Regions from separate parts of the Homo sapiens genome. Here region 1 is linked to region 2. The links are contacts of gene promoters, found by promoter capture Hi-C in blood cells and fetal thymus (Javierre and others, 2016). All regions are on one chromosome and are shown on one strand. The core of a region is centred on a gene start or on the middle of the fragment in contact, and the rest is flanking DNA. Distances in the headings are between cores, read along the strand shown.

Region 1 (4,396 bases), core at 1,310-3,809, 66 kb before region 2:
CATGTTTCATTAAATTCTGGGGATTTAAACCACAAGCAATTTTTCATTTCAGTCTCAAGAGACGGGGCACACTGGCCCATGCCTATATTCCTGGCACTTTGTGGGGCTGAGACAGGAGGATTTCCTGAGGTTGGGAGTTCAAGACCAGCCTGGGCAACATAGTGAAAACCCCATCTATAAAAATAAATAAATCTCAAGAAAAAAATTTAGGCATCTAAAATAGCCAGAATATTAAAAAAAGACAAGGGGGACAGTGTTAGAGAATTCCTCTGCTTGAATACTTCAAAATAGCTTTGTTTCCAAAACTGTTTTTAGTCAGCCTAAAGGAAACGGATGCTGGAGATGAAAAATGATCTCCAAGGTAAACTGAGGCACACACTGAGGGGTGTGTTTCTGGGTGGGCATGAAGCATGGATCACCGGAGCCATGTCCTTCCAGGGGCAACGACCTGCTTGGGATCAGGAAGCAGCTCCATGTGTTCTTGGAGGAGACTGCACGCATCCTCAGGAGGTGAATCGGCTGAACAAGCCATCTTCCGTGTGCAGAGGCCCCTTCCAGCCATCTCTGCTCCTGCAGACACTTGCTTAGCCACGAGGATAATCCACTGGACTGCTTGGTATTCTGCTAGTGGCCAGGCTGGACTGGCCTGCCCAGGCCAGCATCCTCTTTACACCCTCACTGCTTCTTGTGTCCTTCCCAAAGCTGCCCGCCCCACTCTGATGGGCACCCTTTTCCTTAGTCAAGGGAAACGCCAGCCGCTGGGCTTCCCGCTAGCCTTCCAAATAAACTTGTGGTTGTCAGGCAGCGGGAGCCAATCCCAACACCAACCCCTGTCGCCCCTGTCCTTTGCAGGAAGGGGGAGGGCTGTCAAGGAGGAGGAGGGCCAAGTGCCCAGGCTGTTGGGTGAGGGCCAGAAAGAACCTGTTGTGACAATGCTTTCTTCCCCCAGTGCTGCTGAGGGGGCTGAGAATGAAACAGCCCCTCTGACTTCAGCCTGCCATCCAGGGGCACAGACAGAGGGAAAAACCGGGCAAAGAGCCAGCCACAGTCGGGCAGGGATCCAGGGCTGCTCAGCTGAGCTGATGACAGATGACTGACTGTTGGGCTGGGGCAGGTGGACGGTCCAAGTGTCCTTCAGCGGCCCTCCCTGATTGCCTGTGCTAATGCGGCCCTTGCCCTTGGGCCCTGCCCCTCCAGGTCTCCAGTTAAAGGCCTCAGCTCTGGAAATCAAAGCTGTGAATGGGAAATGGAGAAGCCCAGGGGTGCAAAGTGCTAGTGATTGGCATGTTTGTCACAAGAGAGCCCTGAAAAGAGTAAGAGTGGCTCACAACAGAAGGAAGAAATGCACAGTGTGTTCCTCAGTTCAACAGAGGAAAAGTCTCTGCTTGACCAGAGATGGGACTCTTTCCAAGATGTCTGAACTGACTGCAATTTTCTCCTGAAATTCAACGCTAAGGCAAAGAAGAAAAACCCAAAAAGCTAATTATAGCCTCCAGGAACTCTCAGACCTTTCCACAAACTAGTCCCTGACAATTCTGCAGGAGCTCTGAAGATACGGAACTGTGTAGAGCAAAACTGGAAAGAACCGTTGTCTCTGAGGGAAAAGCACACAAGCCCGCAGGTGTCCGCTGGGCTCTTTCAAAAGGTCCTAAGACGTTCCCAGAAGATGACAATGAGGCAGCCATGGTCCTGCTGAGTCTTCAGAAACGGCCTTTCTAGGATAAGTGCTCCTTACACACTTCTCCCTGGGGCATCACTGTCACAGGGATGGTGGTCACCACCTGATTCTGAAACACGAAGATCTTGATTCTTTCAAACACCCAGAGGAAGATAAGCAGGATGCTGACATACTGCACCCAGGCGAACTTTACCATCGCCCAGAATCCTGGCTGATAAGGACAGACAGTTAAAGAGTTGGGGACCACATGGTATAAGTCAAAGTAAACTAAGGTTTAGGCCAGACAGGATATGGCAAGAATATTTCAAATACTCTTAAGATGAAAGGAATAATAAAAGATTATTAAAAAATAAATATGGATGATTCTGACTTAGAAGAATGGCTCAGAAAGAAATACGAACAGGAAATGATCTTCCCCCCTGTATAAAGAGCAGACATAGTCATTTATGTGGAGATACAGTGCTGTAGCAATTTCCAATCAAAGGCTCCCACATGTGTTTCTGCTGGGGACAACTTTGGAATCTTTCCTTTTTGGAAGTTGAGTTACCACTGCCTCTGTAACAGAAAGGATATGATATGGTTTCCACAGGGTACTGGATGACAACATTAATCACAAATGGAGTTTCATGGCTCTGCCTACCAGCCAGATGAAGTTGGGGTCATTCAGGATGGTGGCAACTGCAATACAATCATTAACCATTAATCCATGATGGGGCAGCCTATTGGCAAAATATATTAGGGCTATAAAAATATTATTATTGTTTTTGGGATGGAGTTTCGCTCTTGTTGCCCAGGCTGGAGTGCAATGGAGTGATCTTGGCTCACTGCAACCTCTGCCTCCCGGGTTCAAGCAATTGTCCTGCCTCAGCTTCCTAAGTAGCTGGGATTACAGGCAGGTGCCACCATGCCCAGCTAAATTTGTATTTTTAGTAGAGATGGGGTTTCTCCATGTTGGTCAGGCTGGTCTTGAACTCCCGACCTCAGGTGATCTGCTTGCCTCAGCCTCCCAAAGTGCTGGGATTATAGGCATGAGCCACCACGCTCGGCTATAAAAGTATTATTTTATTCCTGTGGGATATTCTGTACTTCAGAACTAAAAGAAATCATTCGAAAGCATTAAAAATTGCATGTACAAAGTAGATTAACAAATAATTTGTTAAGATACTTGTCAAAAAAGCATTTGATATGGTTTGGCTCTATGACCCAAATCTCACCTTGAATTGTAACAATCCCCACGGATCAAGGGCAGGACCAGGTGGAGATAATTGAATCATGGGGGCAGTTTCCCCATGCCATTCTCATGATAGTGAGTTCTCACCAGATCTGATGGTTTTATCAGATCTGCTTACTTAGCTCTGCTCTCATTCTCTCTTCTGCCGCCCTGTGAAGAGGTGCCTTCTGCCATGATTGTGAGGCCTACCCAGCCATGCAGAACTCTAAGTCAGTTAAACCTCTTTTCTTTATAAATTACCCAGTCTCAGGTATGTCTTTACAGCTGTGTGAGAAAGGACTAATACGATATTTATATTAAAATACGTCAAAAACTTGGAAATGGTCATGTGATCATCTACAATTGCTGAATGGCTAACTGAAAGAATAACATGTTGCCACTCTAAATAATATGTTTGTCTGGACAAAGTCGCGCATTCTTGTAATCCCAAGGATCTGGGAGGCCAAGGTGGGAGGGTCACTTGAGGCCAGGAGTTTGAGAGCAGCTTGGCTAACATATTGAGACCCTCTCTCTACTAAAAAATAAAAAAAAATTAGCTGGGCATGGTGGCACGTGCCTGTAGTCCTAGCGGCCCAGGAGGCTGAGGTGAGAGGATCACGGAGCCCACAGGAGTTCAAGGTTACAATCAGCTATGATTACAGCACTGCACTCCAGCCTGATCATCAGAGCAAGACCCTGTGTCTCTTCAAGAAAAAAAAAAATTAGAACTTTGTAGCAGTGTGGGGAAATACTTTTATTACATGGAAATACAAATAATTTGGATGCCAAAGTGTTTCAACACTATCATAATAGGTATATTTTTAAAATCCACATAAGAATAAAGAGTGAAAAAAGTAAAGAAAAAACATCGATTTCTTGGGCCGTGCTTTTTAGTTTTGTTTTAGAATTCCCTTTACTATTATAAAAATGCTGCTAATGTATGACATAAAATCAGAAAGCAATACTGGATTTGCAGTCGTTCCCCCTTGTGAAATGTTTGTGTATAGTCTCCATGATGTCTGGTTGCCAAGTAACACTCTAGATGCCTTCACAGACATCCTCAGCCACGGACCAGCCAAACATGCCGAGTGAACACATGCCATGGCCTAGAGCTCTGTAAGGAATGAGCACACTGTGCCTTCTGGCAGGAAACAGGGGCACTCCTGTTCTCCTGCTGGACTGCTAATGTGGGGAGAGTCACCCACGTTCTCTGTTTTTCTCTGAAAAGCATGAACAGCAATTTGTCTTTGGCATCTGTTATAGGTGTGCTATGGGGAACAACTCAATTAGGCTTATATTTTTTAAAAGAGAAACCCACCAAGCCAGTGGTGGGATAATGATGGCATTTAACCATCACTAGCCTGCTGGACCACGGGATGCTGGAGGGGTGCGGGTGGTCCCGGGTCTGAAGATCAGGACGAAAAAGACAAATCCTGGGCAGCACATTTGCTCCCATCGTTGAGCATTCACGGGTTTTGACATTTTCATCACAAGGGTTCCAGTTCTGC
Region 2 (4,325 bases), core at 1,406-3,905:
CATTCACCAACTCTACATCTTCACTTGTGTATGTCCCTTGGACATCTCATATTTAATATCTCAAAAACCAAACTCTTGTTTTTCACTCCCCAAGCTGGCTCCACCCTATTTCAGTAAATGGCAATTCCATCCTTCCAAAAACCTTGATTTTGATCTGTCCCTCATGTCTTACATCCAATCTATCAGCAACTGTTACCAGTTTTACCTTCGAAATATATCCAGAATACAACTGCTTCCCATCACCTCTGTAGACCCCACCTTGGCCAAAGCCAACATCATCTTTCACCAGGATTATCACAATAGTGTCTCAACTATTTCCCTGCTTCCACCCTCAGCGCCTACAGTCTACTAAGCTAGCCTTTTGAAAAGGAAAGGCAGATTGTGTTACGTCTCTGCTTAAACCCCTACACTGACTTCTCATCTCATTCTAAATAAAATCCAAAGCTCTTTGCATGGAATTCAAAGCTCAACACAGTTTTGTTCTAGATATCTTTGAATTTGTCTCATAACACACTCTCCTCTCTCATTTATTCAGCTCCAGCCACAGGGGTTCCCTAGAATATGCCAGGCACTTTATCTAATTAGCATTCCATCCCACCACACTCTCTAGTCACCTACTGTGCTTTATTTTTCGAAATAGCACCTATCATTACCTAACATACTTATTTTTTGTCTTATCCCACTAGAATATGTCAGGGGGACAAGAATATCTCATGCTGCCACCCATGAGAATAGGGATGTCATCTGTCTTCTTCACTGTTTTTCCCCAGCACCTAGCACAGAGCTCTTGTATGTAACAATAATTTCTAAGTAGGAAATTCAAAGGATTTTTTCCACTTCATTAAAAACAAACAAACAGATGCAGTGGCTCACACCTGTAATCCTAGCACTTTGGGAGGCCGAGGCGGGCAAATCACTTACTTGAGGTGAGAAGTTCAAGACCAGCCTGGCGAACATGACAAAACCCCATCTCTACCAAAAATACAAAAATTAGCTGGGTGTGGTGGTGTGTCCCTGTAGTCCCAGCTACTCAGGAGGCTGAGGCAGCAGAATCGCTTGAACCCAGGAGGCAGACTGCAGTAAGCCAAGATTGTGCCACTGAACTCCAGCCTGGGTGACAGAGAAAGACCCTGTCTCCAAAAAACAAAAACAAAAACAAAGAAACAAAAAAACCTATTCTAGTTACTCAGACACACAGTCTTAAAATAACAAAAATACTTATAGAATGAAGCTAGATTCCACAGCATCGATCAGGAATTTCCAGTGTAGGAAATGATGAACTACCACATTCAAACATACAGGCTTTACAGGTGCATCAGAATCACAAGCACGTGGCAGGGTTCATGTGCCCAATTAAGTGAATATTCCTGCTACATGTTCAGCAGCTTATAAACAGATGGTGACCCAGACCAGACTGCCTTGATGAGTCTGCTTGGAAAAAAGGCATTACATCACTGATTGGAGAACCTCAAAGCATATGTCCGGGCAGGTGACACACACACAGCTCAGGCTGTGATTGCTAAACCACTCCCACAGCCAAATAAGGAAACCCATCTCATGACCAGCTCTCAGGGGAATTCTCCGAGTCTGACAGTCACCTCTAACTCCTCTGCCAGTTAAAATTAAGGGGTCTGTGATCAGTGATGTTACACTCCTCAAATGTGCATTTTTTTTTGAGGCGGAGTCTTGCTCTGTTGCCCAGGCTGGAGTGCAGTGGTGTGATCTCGGCTCACTGCCACCTCCACCTCCCTGGTTCAAACGATTCTCCTGCCTCAGCCTCCCGAGGAGCTGGGACTACAGGCGCCCACTACCATGCCTGGCTAATTTTTGTATTTTTAGTAGAGACGGGGTTTCACCATGTTGGCCAGGCTGGTCTTCAACTCCTGACCTCAGGTGATCCACCCGCGTCGGCCTCCCAAAGTGTTGGGATTACAGGCGTGAGCCACCGTACCCCGCCTCAAATGTGCATTTGTGATACCTTTTCGTAAATGTTTATTCAAATATTTATTCACGAATAAAGGAAGAAAACGGGATTTGTTTAAATTCAATTTCTAGGTCCAAGACAACCTACTACGGCTGTCCCTAATACGGACCTCCGGGTTGTCCTCAGTGCCGCTTCCAACAGTGTCCTCAAACACCCTCCCCTCCCATAATGAGCCCCCAACCTGTCACCACTCCGAGCAATACTCCCCAAACTGTCAACGCCCTAAACAGCTCCCTTGTTATCGCCAAGCTCTAGAAAGCCCTCCTTATGTCATTCTTACCCCTAAAGACCGTTCTTGTCACCAATTCCCCAGACTTCCCCTATGAACCGCTCTAAGAGCCCTCAGCTATCAGCCACACCCCCAAACAGCCCTCAGTAAGAGCCCTACACTATCAGCCAGACGTTTTCCGCCACCAACGCTCCCGAGACCCCACTCCTGTCACCAGTTCCCCGAACATTCCTGCGAGCAATGTCGCAGATACTGCTCACAGACGTCCCCATAACCAACTTCTTCGCCACCGCAGCCCAGGAGCCCCCAAAGGGGTCCTCCGCGGCCCCGCCCCTTTACGTGCGGCCCCGCCCCTTGGCGTGGCGCCCTGACAAATGGCGCCGGAAGCCCCGCCCCCGGCCGGTTGCTAGGCTCCGACAGCCGGAAGTCCCGCCTGCCGTGTAGTCGCCGCCGTCGCTGCCGCTGCCGCTGCCGCCGTCGTTGTTGTTGTGCTCGGTGCGCTGAGCTCCGCGGCTCCGCGAGCCGGTTCCGTCCCCTTCCCGCCGCCGCCATGAAGTGGATGTTCAAGGAGGACCACTCGCTGGGTAAGCACTTGGTCGTCGGCCCGGCTGCTGGGGGCTGGGGCGGCGGGTGGGCCCCCTCCCCCACTCGGGCGGCCCTGGGCCGAGTGGAGCGGGGCGGATGCCCTGCTGCGGGCTGGAGTCGCCCATGCCCTGGTGCCTCGGGCAGCGGCCCCCTGACCCCATGTCACCCTCCGCGGGCCTTGCTGGGAGCTAGTAGGGGACAGGACCGCGGCCCCGGGGACGCCGGAACCAGGGCCTGGGTTGTACGCAGGGCGCAGGAGGAGGAGGGCCGGGGGCCGGGAACCGACCGGTGGGCAGGCGCGGCCGTCAGCCCCGTTTGTTTCTCCCACAGAACACAGATGCGTGGAGTCCGCGAAGATTCGAGCGAAATATCCCGACAGGGTTCCGGTGAGTGGACTCTCCGCCCCCTCACCTCGCTGTCACCTCTGTCGTCTGGGACCCGTGATAGGCCCCAGGCCATTCAACAGTTGACAAGTTGAGGTTCCAGTCCCAGTTACAGTAGCTGACGGGCCAGACCGGGATGAGGCCGCCCAGGGCCGGGGCGTGAGGGGCTCGGGCTGGTGCTGTTCAGGGTGCCTCAGTGCTGAATCTCCCGATCTAGGCCAGCGAGCCGTCTGCAGCCTCGGGGCTCCCTGGCCAATTATGTAAGGAACGATGTTCTAGGACAGGGCAACAGGTCACTGCCACTTTTGGGAATGGTGGTGGAGGGAGACTGTCATTTTGGTCTTGGAAGTGGTACTTGAGTCTCAGGACGTTCATCTTTTACTTTGTCTCCATCTTTACCTAACTTCTAGCTCCGTTATCTCACCTTGACCCTGTCATCCTTGCCTGACCAAAATAATGTGAAAAGCCGCTGAAAACCCCTTCTGCCATATTTTCTTCTTAGTCAATAATAAATATAATGTTATATTTCTTCCATGGTTGGGGAGATAGTTTTGTAATCGTTATTAATTTTTAATGGACATTAAGGCCTGTTATTGTAGCTCTTTGCTTGTGAATAATTTGTCTGGGGAAAGGAGTAGGAGGGACGGATTTGAAACTTGTTCAGAGAGGAGCAACAGGCCAAATGAAGAACTTGGTTCTTGGCTGGCTAAAATTCCAGGCATTCCAATTAGTCCATCCATTCTTGTCTCCTGTGTTCCTTGGGAACACAGTAGTGTTTCCTGTAGTGTGAAGGTGGATCCATTCTGGGGTCCTGGAGTAACGGGCCATGGATGAAACCCTCCCCAGATATTCTTAGGTCTGCCCAGATAAAATGTGGAAAAGCTTAGTGGTAAGGGCTGCATTTCTCTTACATAATTGACCACAGAAAAGCACTTACTGTTTCCCTGTAACACATTTATATCAATTCTTAACCTCCAGAGCGTGTGGTTTATTAAGCCAAAGACATATTTTCTCCTGCTATGCAGTTCCCCACCCACCTCCTTGCCCACACTCTGTTCATCAGCTCCTCAGCCATGTGAGGCCAGAGCCTCGCTTTAGGAAACACAGTCCTGACCTCTCTTTACTTTCCCAGGTGATTGTGGAA

What was found. The method cuts DNA at HindIII sites, captures the fragments that hold promoters and counts their contacts. A CHiCAGO score of 5 or more calls a contact.
Region 1: a fragment that was not itself captured here is called in contact with the fragment with the promoter of GABARAPL2 in region 2 in 1 of 17 cell types (naive B cells); the score reaches 5.5 in naive B cells.

What each region holds. Positions count from the first base shown.
Region 1 is chr16:75,498,070-75,502,465 of GRCh38, forward strand. It overlaps the pseudogene TMEM231P1. Among named protein-coding and RNA genes, the nearest start is that of CHST6, 4.8 kb to the left of the region's middle. The HindIII fragment of the contact is 6,365 bases long and covers 1-4,396 here.
Region 2 is chr16:75,563,724-75,568,048 of GRCh38, forward strand. GABARAPL2 (GABA type A receptor associated protein like 2) reads left to right here and starts at 2,656. Exons shown (of 4, transcript NM_007285.7): 1 at 2,656-2,797; 2 at 3,129-3,184; 3 at 4,314-4,325. The coding sequence starts at 2,764. RefSeq lists a silencer at 2,719-3,128 and an enhancer at 3,118-3,871. The HindIII fragment of the contact is 5,212 bases long and covers 1-4,061 here.